Regions from separate parts of the Homo sapiens genome. Here region 1 is linked to region 2. The links are contacts of gene promoters, found by promoter capture Hi-C in human tissues and cell types (Jung and others, 2019). All regions are on one chromosome and are shown on one strand. Each heading gives the region's core, a stretch centred on a gene start or on the middle of the fragment in contact. The rest is flanking DNA. Distances are from core to core; before and after follow the strand shown. Region 1 overlaps LOC105377778 (a long non-coding RNA gene). Region 2 holds the start of FBXO25 (F-box protein 25).

The links. Contacts are between HindIII fragments. The study calls those that stand out against the background at their distance.
Region 1: a fragment that was not itself captured here is called in contact with the fragment with the promoter of FBXO25 in region 2 in 1 of the 25 tissues and cell types used here (dorsolateral prefrontal cortex).

Annotation. Positions count from the first base shown.
Region 1 is chr8:1,736,770-1,743,344 of GRCh38, reverse strand. It overlaps LOC105377778 (a long non-coding RNA gene), which reads left to right. Exons shown (of 4, transcript XR_007060784.1): 4 at 493-526. Among named protein-coding and RNA genes, the nearest start is that of CLN8, 24 kb to the left of the region's middle. The HindIII fragment of the contact is 5,059 bases long and covers 1-4,591 here.
Region 2 is chr8:405,465-411,833 of GRCh38, reverse strand. FBXO25 (F-box protein 25) reads right to left here and starts at 4,876. Exons shown (of 10, transcript NM_183420.2): 1 at 4,768-4,876. RefSeq lists a silencer at 4,744-5,153. The HindIII fragment of the contact is 7,830 bases long and covers 1,667-6,369 here.

The DNA of each region.
Region 1 (6,575 bases), core at 813-3,312, 1.3 Mb before region 2:
GGCTGCATCCAAGGAAAACACTTTCATTTCTCAAAGGAAAACATTAGGAACCTGAGGGAAGCTATTGCCAGGTGTGTAACTGACCCAGGATCTTCATCTAGAGCAGGGCTGGCAAAACAAGGCCCTCAGGCCAAATCAGGTCCACCATCCATTTATTTTGTATTCTCTGTAAGCTAACCATGAATTTTATTTTTTTTTAATGGTTCAAAAATGTAGAAGGAGAATGATGTTTTGTGACATGTAAAAATGATATGCTGTTCACGTTTTCAAGTCCATCAAAATAAGATAAACTGAACAGCACCAGGCTCATGGGTTTAGTATTGTCTGCAGCTGTTTTACGTGACAGCAGGAGAAAAGGTCCCACAGAGACCACATGGCTCACAAAGCCTAAAAGGTTAACTTTCTGGCTCATTACTGGAAAAGTTTGCTGATCCCTGACTATTTTTATTTTATTTTATTTTATTTTATTTTATTTTATTATTTTTGAGACAGGATCTCACTCTGTCACCCAGGCTGGAGTGCACTGGTGCAACCTCGGCTCACTGCAGCCCTGACGTCCCAGGCTCAAGCGATCCTCCTATCTCAGCCTCCCAAGTACCTGGGACTGGGACAGCAGGAGTGCAACACCCACACCAACACCAGACCACAGCCTTGACCCCTGAGTTTAGAGCATGCAAGAAATTCCTACAAATCAATTAGAAAAAACAAGCGATTTAAATAGAGAAATGGGCAAAAGACCTGAACAAGCACTGTACCAAAGAAAAGATCAAAATGGCTACTCAACGGATGCTCCCCTGTGTTATTCATCAGTGGCTGCTGCTTACAACCACAGTGAGATATCACTACATAGCCGCCAGGACAGCAAAGTCAGGAAAGAGGAGCAGGAATCAGTGTGGATACAGAGAAACTGAACTCAGACACTGTTGGTGGGAACTGAACTCACACACTGCTGAGGAGAACTGAACTCACTCACACACCATGGGGGGACTGAACTCACTCACACAGCACTGAGGGGACTGAACTCACACACCACGGCGGGGCCTGAACTCACTCACACACTACTGTGTGGAAACTGAACTCACTTGCGCACCCCTGGGGGGAAGTAACATTTTTGCATTGACCCTGGACCAATAACCACTGAAACTGAACTGAAGCTTCCATGGCGACACTGTGATTCCCCACGACCAGCAGAAATGCAAACATATTGCACACAAGGTCATGCACAAGAATGTTGACAGGATCACTGTTTGTGTGTTTATCTGAACCTTCACCTGCTCATGACAGATAAAGGTTATCATGTGAACGTGGGGAAGACATCGCCAAACACCCAGGGGAGGTTTCCCTGGGAGCAGACACCTCCTCCCCTCGCCGTCCTCTTTTACCTCCCGTTGCCGTCCTCTTTGAAATGCCCTGCAGCACGGTCAAGGGACTCTGCTGCTCTGCCAGTCCACTGTGTAGGTCTTCCTGCTTCTCCACTTTATTTCCACCAAATTATAAACTCTTGGAAACAAAGATTCTGCCATCACGCATTTCTTTATCACTCACAGCATCTGGATGTCCTCCACAACAGCAAGTGGCACCTGTCATATTTTGTTTTGTGTTTTTTGTTGTTGTTGTTTTGTTTTTTTTTGAGACGGAGTCTCGCTTTCTTGCCCAGGCTGGAGTGCAGTGGTGTGATCTCTGCTCATTGCAAGCTCCGCCTCTCGGGTTCAAGCGATTCTCCTGCCTCAGCCTCCCTAGTAGCTGGGACTACAGCTGCGTGCCACCACGCCTGGCTAATTTTTTGAATTTTTAGTAGAGACGGGGTTTCACAGTGTTAGACAGGATGGTCTTGATCTCCTGACCTCGTGATCCACCCGCCTCGGCCTCCCGAAAGTGCTGGGATTACAGGCATGAGCCAACGCGCCTGGCCACCTGTCACGTTTTACAGCTAAGGAAGCTGAGGTCACATGTCCAAGGAGTCAAGCATGGGACGTCTCTGTCCTTACCCAACGTGGGTCTCACCACCACTCCTTATTGACTCCACTCTGATCAGACTGTGCCTCTGATAACTCCCAGGACAGGCTCAGCCTTTTCAAGCTTCTGGGCCTTCACATTTGCTTTTGCCTCTCTACCTGGGTCTTTATTTCTTCTATTGTCCAAGGACCAAGTCCTCCTCATCCTTCAGGTCTCAACTCTGGCTGGGCTCCGAGGAGGAGCTACCACCTGGGACGCCACTACCTGTCGGGCCTGCCTCCCTCTCTTACTCGCTCATGTCCTTGCATTTCACTCATTGAATGATCTTAAACATTCATGATAGAATGATCTATCATGTCATAAAAATGACATGATAATTATTTTTATCTCTTTGTGGACTGTTTATTTTCTGTCCTGCCCTTCCCACCTCACAAGAATGGGAAGCCCCATGGTGGGCTGGGACATCATCTGTCTTATTCACACGTGATGTTAAAAGAGATTGTTTTCTTCCTAACGGTGATGAAGTTACACTGCACAGAGGATCTTCAGGGCAGTGAAGCTACTCTGCATGGCACTGTCATGGTGGATAAGAGTCAGTGTACATCTGTGCAGACCCAGAGGATGAACAACACCTAGAGCGAGCCCTCGTGTAAACCACGGACTCCAGGCAATGAAGACGTGTCCATGTGGGTTCACCAATGGTAACAAATGCACCACACTTGCTGGTGGGGGGTGGCTATGCGTGCAGGGGAGAGGGGACAGGCAGCGAATGGCAGGTGTCTGTACCTTCTGTGCATTTTACTGTGAGCCAAAAACTGCTCTAAAAAAATTGTCTACTTTTAAGTTCTGATGGGTTCTCTGGCTTCAGGGAGTTGCCATTTTGGATCCTGAAGAATAAAGAGATAGGCTCATTTGCATGAGGTAGGCAGAGTCAAGTTGGAGGTTGAACTACGTGCTGGGACTGAGGCCATCAGACTCTGGAGGGAGGAGGGGAGCATAGCTGCTGTCTTGCTGACAGCTTCATGGGGAAGCTGGGGTCTGAGTTAGGATGAGTGTCTTAGTCCATTTGTTTTGCTATCAAGGACTACCTGAAGCTGAGTAATTTATAAAGAAAAGAGGTGTGTTTGGCTCACCTCTCTGCAGCCTTCACAGGGAGCATGGTGCCAGCATCTGCGACTGGTGAGGCCTCCGAAATATTAGAAATTGGCCGGGCGCAGTGGCTCATGCCTGTAATCCTAGCACTTTGGGAGGTTGAGGGGGGCGGATCACCTGAGGTCAGGAGATCGAGACCAGCCTTCCCAACATTGGTGAAACCCCGCCTCTATTAAAAATACAAAAATTAGCTGGGCGTAATGGCAGGCACATGTAATCCCAGCTACTCGGGAGGCTGAGGCAGGAGAATCGCTTGAACCCAGAAGGCAGAGGTTGCAGTGATCCAAGATCACACCACTGCACTCCAGCTTGGGTGACAGAACTAGACTCCGTCTCAAAAAAAAAAAAAAAATGTGAGAAATCATTCTGCTCGTGGCGTCATGGCGGAATGGGAAGCGGAGCAGGCATCACATGCCAAGAGGAAAAAAGCCATAAAGAGGGACAGAGAGAGAGGAAAGGAGCTGCCAGGCTCTTTTTAACAATCAGATCTCGCGAGAGCTAATGAAATGAGACAAATAGAGTGAGGATGGCACCAAGACATTTATGTAGGGGCCACACCAGTGACCAGACACCTCCCACCACAACAATGACCAGACACCTCCCACCACACCAGTGACCACACACCTCCCACCACACCAGTGACCACACACCTCCCACCACACCGGTGACCAGACACCTCCCACCACACCGGTGACCAGACACCTCCTACCACAATGACCAGACACCTCCCACCACACCAGTGACCCAGACACCTCCCATCACACCAGTGACCCAGACGCCTCCCACCACACCAGTGACCAGACACCTCCCACTAGGCCGGCACCAACACTGGCGATCCAATGTCAGCCTGAGGTTTTGGGGGTGTCAAACATCCAAACGATATCACTGGGGTATGTCTGGGGAGGCAGGATGATGGCAGAAGGCCTCGAGACAGGAAGACCTTGCCTTGGGTCCGAAGCCTGTGCACAACCATCAGGAAACTCATCTGTTTCTGCTGGAGTTTAACTTGACTTTGATTGGTTATTAAAAACCATCCTGTAATCCCAGCAGTTTGGGAGGCTGAGGTGGGCAGATCACAAGGTCAGGAGTTCGAGACCAGCCTGGCCAACATGGTGAAACCCGGTCTCTACTAAAAATAGAAAAAATAGCTGGGTGTGGTGGCGGGTGCCTGTAATCCCAGCTACTCGGGAGGCTGAGGCAGGAGAATTGCTTGAACTCAGGAGGTGGATGTTGCAGTGAGCTGAGATTGCACCACTGCACTCCAGCCTGGGTGACAGAGCAAGACTCCGTCTCAGAAAAAAAAAAAAAATCATTGGGCCGGGCATGGTGGCTCACTCCTGTAATCCCATCACTCTGGGAGGCCGAGGCAGGTGGATCACCTAAGGTCAGGAGTTCAAGACTGGCATGGCCAACACAGTGAAAACCTATCTCTACTAAAAATACAAAAATTAGCTGGGCATGGTGGTGGGCGCCTATAGTCCCAGCTCCTCAAGAGGCCGAGGTGGGAGAATCACTTGAACCCCAGAGGCAGAGGTTGCAGTGAGCCAACATCGCGCCACTGCACTCCAGCCCGGGTGACAGATTGAGACTCTGTCTCAAAAATAAATAAATAAATAAAATAAATAAATAAATAAAAATAATCATTGGTTCTCACCTCCTTTATGATTCTTTTGCCCCATTCTCTCTTCTCTTCTGGGGCTGTGTGTGCACAGAGGACCTGCTCCCCCGTCCTGAGCGCCCTGGTCTCTTGTGCCCCCTGCCCATTTCCCTCCTCCGTTCTCCACCTGTCCTGGCTGTGCAAATGCTTCGGAGGACTCGCCCACTTTTCCCGTCCCCTCCTTTGCTGCCTACAGTCCACGTTAGAGTTCTTATTTTCCGTATCACATTTCACATTTCTAAAACTTCTACTTGATTCTTTTATTATTATAATTTTCACTTTTCTGGTGAAATTCTCCATCGGCTCACTTCAGTACTTGGATGGAGTAACCCCATGTTTTTTAGAGGACGCATCTCATAACTCCAGCCCCTGAAATTCCCGCGATCTCTTCCTATTGCCTGTTTTTCTTGGCTGTCGGTAATTTCTTTCTTGTCTTATCTCTGTCAGGTAAGTTTTGGTTGAATGTTGCTGTTGCCTATTAAAGGTTGTAGAAATGATTTGAGGATCTGGATGTATTATCTTCAGGAAGCAATTTCTGTTACTCATGGCAGGCATGTGGGTGGGGACAAAAAATCTCACTCCAGTCAGGGTTTGTGCTGTTTGGGGGCTGAGTTTCAGGGGTTTTTCCTCCCCTAAACTTACTACTATATCAGATAGTGAATATGTTTCGTGTTTAGAATTCTAAATTAGAGGTTATTTCCTATTGCCCAGCTCAACCTGGGTAGAGAAATGTGAGCCCAAAGCTAAACATTCCAGCTTTCTCATCCCAGCATTCACAACCACAACAATGTTTGGCTGTCGGAGTCCCAGGTGAGAGGGGTGAGCCAGGCAGGCTTGGTTTTCAAGTAAAGGGGATTTTCATGGGGATAGGGCACTGGGGGCAGAGGAGGGAGTCTGTGGGGGTAGCAGGAGCTCTGGGAGACAGCAAGGCTCCCACAGGGGAGGAGGGGTCATTGTATTTGAGCCCAGCACAATTCCTTACAAGTGATTTTTTTTTTTCAAGAACAAGCCAATTGATATAGTTGGATGTGTGTCCCCTCCAAATCTCCTGTGGAAATGTGACGCCCGGTGTTGGAGGTGGGCCTGGTGGGAGGTGACTGTGTTGTGGGGGCGGATCCTTCCTGAATGGCTTGGTGCCTTCCTGCTGTCTCCAGTGAGTTCACTGGAAATCTGGCTGTTTAAAGAGCCTGGCGCCTCTTGGCCGGGCGCGGTGGCTCACGCCTGTAATCCCAGCACTTTGGGGGCCGAGGCGGGTGGATCACAAGGTCAGGAGATCAGGACCATCCTGGCTAACACGGTGAAACCCCGTCTCTACTAAAAAATACAGAAAATTAGCCGGGCGCGGTGGCGGGCGCCTGTAGTCCCAGCTACTCAGGAGGCTGAGGCAGGAGAATGGCGTGAACCCGGGAGGCGGAGCTTGCAGTGAGCTGAGATCGCGCCACTGCACTCCAGCCTGGGCGACACAGCCAGACTCTGTCTCAAAAAAAAAAGAGCCTGGCACCTCCTTCTCTCTCTTGCTCCCTCTCTTGCCACCTGACACACCTGCTCCCCCTTCACCTTCCGCCAGGAGAAAAATCTTCCTGAGGCCTCCCCAGAAGCAGATGCTGGAACAACCCGCAGAACCATGAGCCACATATACCTGTTTCTTCATATACTATCCAGCCTCAGGTGTTCCTTATAGCAACGCAAGACAGACGAATACACCAGCCACATTAAGGTGGGGAATGGTTCTTGCTAATCTATCTTGAGACCAAGCATGTGTTAGGGTTAAATAGGAAATAGGTGTTAAAGTTTTCTGATGTTGTGCACG
Region 2 (6,369 bases), core at 3,627-6,126:
ACACTGCTGATTCAAAATGTCACATCCCAGAAAGGCTCCCTGACTCCCCGTCCAAACAGCGCCCTTCTGCTGCCTCAACCCCCTCCCTACCAGTCTAAGCCATTATCTAGTGCCTTCATAGTTGTAAGGGCTGTCTGAAATGATTAGCGTGTTTATCATCTGTTTTCCTCCAAGAAAATGCAATGTCTTGTTCAGGTCCGTATTCCATTACCTTGAACAATGCCAGGAAAACAACAGGAGCTCTATAAGTATTTATTTACTGAATGAATAAATATATACATCCATGGTTCAGAAGAGAGTTAGACTAGAGAGAAAGAGGAAAATCATGAGCATTCAGACACTAATCAAAACCACACAAATAATATCACAGAATATGTCGAGAGGGAAATCAAGAGAGCCAAGAAAAAAACCCTAAGAAACATCACCATTTAAGGGATCGGCAGATATAAGCCAAGAAGAAAAACTGAAAAGGAAGAGCCAAAAAGGTAGAGGGAGAAGTAGGAAGTCAGGAGAAAAATGTATTTCAGGAAAGAAATGGTCGACAGAGACGAAAATGTTATAAAAATGCCAAGCATGGCAAGAGTTGAAAATATACGTTGAATTTAGCTACAGAAAGGTAGCTGAATTACTCAAGCAAAAGTGGTTTCTGTAATGTATTACTTTAATTTCACGTCCCGAACAGACTTGAGTATTTTATAATATAGAATATTTATATCGTAGAGAAAAATGTAGAATATTTACATCATGGAGAATAAATGAGAGATGAACATCTCCAAACACCACCTCCCAACTATATTTAGTATAATTAACAAAAAACAAGCTATTAAATGGGCACTTATACAATCCTAGAAGATACAGAAAAAAAAGGAAGGAAATTACATAGACTTCAACAATATTCCTGGATCAACCACAAATGCTTAATTCTTGACTGGTGTAGGAAATGATGAAGTAATTATTCTTTACACGAAGAAAATCTCAAACCTTGCTAAACTGACTTATAGTCAGAACATGTCTTTTTCAGTCACATAATGATTAATTTAAATTCTTGCTTTAGAAAATACTTTATTCCTTAAATTTCAGCACAATTTTGATAAACTTTGTCTCACAGAACTGCTTCACAACTACTGAACATCCTAAAATGCAAAACTCAATGCCCATGTTCAGTCGACCTAAAGTTATCTAAAACTGTCTCTAATAGCATACAGCTGATTTTATGATTTTCAAGAACATTCCCACCAAAGGCAGCAAAGACCATGAAGTAGCAGATGACTGAAGTGGCACCTTGAGTCTCATAAAACACATTCAACAGAAAATGGCTGCTAGGAACATCTCTGATAATTATCAAATTATCTCTCAATATCAACTTGAAACTGTGGATTCAGAAATCTATATTAAAAAAAAAAATCAAGTGGATAATCCTGAAAAATATTGCTAACAGACCAAATACAGGATTACTTCAACGACAAACATTTGAGCACCAACTACATGTTATTATGCTAGATGTTCCTGCCCTCAAAAGTGTGCAATTTAGCTAAGGAACTAAAAAAGAACAATAGCAAAACACACACAAATTCCATACAAGTGTAATATAATAAAGTGTGTTTACATGTAGATATGTGAGTGTGCATGTATACATACATACAGATATGTCCACAATCTTGTAACTTGTGGTAAAGAGAGAATAAAGTTAATTTGAGCAGAAAGCAAATCAGCTGGGAAAGCTCTGACTAGAAACTAGGACTCGATCTTCGCCCTGAAGCATGGTTAGATCTTAAATGAATGGAGAGGCAAGGCAAAAAATATCAATCATGGGAATGGTGGGTGAATAAGTATAAAGGGCAAAATGTGTGCCACAGTTTGAGAAAAATAAGCAGAAAAGATGGGATAAAATGGAGAAAGTTTATCAGAGGACTGGTACATAAGCGACTAGAAGCCAGGTCATAGAAGAATATCAAAGGTGTTTAGACTTTATTCTGTCAGTAATTAAACGTTTTTCAGCAACAGATCAGCGTGAGCAGTGTTGTTTTGAGAATAATAATTTTCTAGGGCTTGTAGGATAGATCAAATGAAAAACATGGAGACAGAAAAAAACAACTAGGCAACAAATATCTTGCCAACAGAACCTTATCTGGATGACTGTCCTATGTACATCCCGGTATCCTCAGCTGAAAAAATATTTTAAAACTTGATGACACACAAATATTGTACTTACCTATTTAGACACTATGCCCACTCATCATTTAATACACTTATCTTCTAGTTTCACAATCTTTATAACATTTACATAAAGAGCCTGCCTACTGTTTCCATTAATATAACCAATTCTTTTACAACTACCTAAACTCTACAGATAATTCATTTTGGCAACTCAGTGAAAAATGAATAGTTTGGTCTGAATTTCTCAGCTGATAAGTTTGATTTTTTAAGGGTTGAAAGGAGTGAAATGCAGCCATGGAAATAAAAAAATAGTCCATGCCCAAAGGCTTATTTTCAACACAGAGGAAAAGATTTGTTTCTCTGAAGATGTGTGTGCTTCACAGATTTGTTATGGTATGCTCTATGGATCACAATGAAGTTTTTCTTAAAGCATAATCTATACAGCTCATGAACTAAAGCACAAACTCTGGATGCAGATTAAAAACAACACCACCAACAAAAAAAGACAAGTTGCAATTTAAAACGTCTGGGGTCTGGATCTCAAGTTTTCAAAAATACTCCCAAACTGAGGCTTCTGAGTTTGCAAATCAGAAAACAATGCTACTAAAGTTTTATAGAATGATGATGACCCACGGCTTTCAATGGGAATGTATTTGTTCAGCTAAAAAATGTGAATTGCTAGAGCTTTATACGCTTATTTTAATTAAAATTACCTTTATTTTGGGAATTTACAAACACAAAAAAACTAGAAATTACTCCTGAAAATTATTAAACTTTTAAGAGCAAGCACTCAAAGGGTGTAGCTTGTATAATTTGCAAATTTTAAGCACATTTTATGCCAACTTATTTCAGACAGCCTACAATGATTAACTATTTAAAATCTTCCCTTAATTTCTATTTCATGTGGTAGGACACGTGGGTGGGATACTTCAGTAGAAAAGGACTTCATGAAGTTCATTTGCTGGTGGAAACTCTTGGCATGAGAGACTCAGAACAAAAAAAAATGTCTTTCCTTCAACAAGCATATTTTTTCTTAACAATAATAATGGCAAACATTTATTAGAGCTTACCATAGGCTACGCATTACTCTAAACAATCTACATATGTTGTCTCATTTAATCCTCACACTGTCCTCCAAGGTAGAAAACATTATTCTTGTTTTACAAGTTTCATTATGTATTTTAAAGATGAAGACACTGAGGCAAAGAGTTCAGTGGAGCTGGGATTCAAAATGATGGAGTCTCACTCCAGGATCCATGCTCCTAACCACTATGTTTATAATAGCAGTTCCTGAAAACCCTATTAAAACAGATGCCATTAAATTATAAGCTTTTTAACTTTTTTTTTTTTTACCGTCTATTACAGATCACTAATATGATTTCAAGTAATGATGAACCTAAATACAAAGGCACTAAAACAAGGAATACAACACAGGAAAGAAAACTCCAATCCATCTTAAAAGACCACATGTGTTTCCCTATTTGTTTTGCTTATAAGTGTGGACAAATTTGATCCAGAAAGGACATTTTAAAAAATGGCAAACTGAGGGCTGAGAGTCAGAAATAAGTTGTACTCTAAGGACTTACAGATAATCACAGATTCCTCATGGGAAAGGTAAACACGTAAAGACGAGGAGAAAACAGAATATGAAAGAGTAAACGTCTTTTCTGATTAGGGCCGGATGGTAAGGATTTGGAGGCAGCAAGAGACAGCTTCATAAGGGAAGAAATGGTTCTCTAGATTCTTTAGTCTTCAAAATGAGTTTGAATAGGCCCAAGGACAGAGGTGGAATCTAATTGAGAAAAAGGTCAAATTGAGCTTACTGTGAGGGGAAGGATGCAAAATTAGTGTCTGCTGCAAGAAAAATAAGCATGGAAAGAAATTAAGGGAGGAGACAGAGACAGAGCCAGAGCCACAGACCAGGAGTAGGGAAAAAAAGGTAAGCAGCAGACGGGGCAGAGTGGCCTGGAGGAATGAGGGGTCACACCTAGCAGGTGCCCACCGGCGAAGAGGCAAGGACCGAGCCCGGAGGGCAAACGCCGGCAGGAGTCGTCCCCGAAACACCTTGCCCAGCGAGGCGGACACAAGCTCGGGCCTGCAAGACGGCCCAGGAGGGTGGGGGCGGGAAGGGGTCGCAGAAGGTGGGCAGGGGAAGCGGCTGAGGACGCGCGGTGCACCTGTGGGCGGCCCCCGTGCCCACCCGACTCGCCCGCAGCTCCCTGAATGAACCCTCCACACCCGCCGGCCGCCCCCAGACCCCACCTGACGCGCCCGCGGCCCATCGTCCCTACCTGACGCGCCCGCGGACCCAGACTTCAGCAGACGCGCACGCGGCAATCCCGTCCCCACCTGACGCGCCCGCGACAACCCCGTCCCCACCTGACGCGCCCGAGGCCCCCGGTCCCCACCTGACCCTCCCACAGGCCCCGTCCCCACCTGACGCGCTCGCGACCCCATGTCTTCCCCTGACGCGCCCGCCGCCCCCGGTCTTCACCTGACTCGCCCGTGGCCCGTCGTCCCCACCTGACGCGCCCGCGAGCCCCAATCTTCACCTAACGCGCCTGCGGCGCCAAGTCTTCACCTGACGCGCCCGCTGCACCCCGCACCTACCTAGCGCGCCTGCGGCCCCCAGTCTTCACCTGACGCGCCCGCGTCCCCCAGTGCCCAACGGGCGCGCCGGCCACCTGGGCCCGCACCTGACGGCGACCAGGCGGTTATTGCCGGAAGTGGGCCGCCGCCTCCCGGCGCGCCTCAGGGAAGCCCCGCCCCTGGCCATGCTGATTGGCCGGCGCGGATCCGCGTGGCAATGTTGCTGCCTGGTCCTGTCGCCCGCAGCGTGCGCCTGCGTAGTAGGCACTGCCCCTCCGTCCGCGCGCGTCCAGAGTGCCGGGCGTGGAGGCGTGGGGGCGTGGGGGCGTGGGGTGGGGCTCGGGTGCGCAGGGACGGGCGCGGTCAGTGCCTGAGATCCCTGCGATCGCTGGGAGATGACGGTGAAGACCTGAGATTTAGGCCTGCGCGGCGGGTGACGACGCCGGTCCGGGTCTTCACGGGAGGACGCTGGCCGGGGCCTTCAGGTGTTCTCGTGGCCTGAGGACGCGCGTCCCTGAGAATGTGCGTGCCCGCGCCGCGCGGGTCCCACAGGAGCCTGGGCAGCCCCGCCGCCGCATTTCCACCCTGCGGCCGTATTTCCACCCGCTGGGCGCCAAGCCCGGGATGACTGCACTCTAGGGCATCACTGCGCGCTCACACTCAGCATTCGGGCACAAGCACGTTCTCTTTATAAACAGTTTCGAATCTTGTCGAATCTTTCTAGAAGGTTGAAATGCCCTGGAGGAGCAGCGTGAATAGTTTTTTCCAATTAGGAAAAAAGAATGTGGGGCGGCTGGAGGGAGAGAGGCAGGCCGAGAAGGCCAGGTGGGTCCAGGAGCCGCAGCCCCCGTGCCTCAGTTTCCGCCTAGAAACATGGAGGTGGCGGTGCACGCTACAGGATTTCCATAAGAACAAATGAGTTAGCGTGTGCAAAACATTTAAAACAGTGTCTGGTGTGTAGCAAGCAAATATGAGTATTAGTCTTTTCCTTGTTAAAATGTGTGCATCTACATGTGGTGCACATTACAGGAAGTGTATAGTATGGATTCATATTTTGGAAAAGTAATTTTAGAAGTTATTTCTGAAGTGCTTATTATAATAGTGTTTCTTGACCACATGCTTTTAAATAATGTGAAGGCAATGAAGTAGGCAATATTGCTTGCACATCCCCAATTTAAACACCTGTCTGTCCCTCCTTCCCTCTCTCCGTTCTTTTCTTCCTTTCCCTCTCTCTTTATTCCTTCCTTCATTCCCTTCAAGGTTGCGGATTATTCTATTATATAAATGTATCAATTTATTAGAATAGTTTCTATGATGTCTATGATAGGTTTTAAATTGTTTGCAATAGTTTGCCATTATAAATAATGCCCAGTAGCGCTGTGGTCTGATTTAACTTGTGAAGGTATATTTCCAAATAAATCGCTATGATTGGATTGTTGTGTAAAGCAAAAAGTGTCTGAGGCAGATCACAACTGATTTAGAGGTTTATTCTGCCAAAATCGTGGACGTGTCTGGGGAAAAAGAAACACAGGTTACAGTAGGATTTTTGGCCTGTACTTTTTTCCAAATATTTAAGGGAAAAGCGCCGGTAGGAGGGGAAAGAGGGGAGAGTAGGCTATGAGG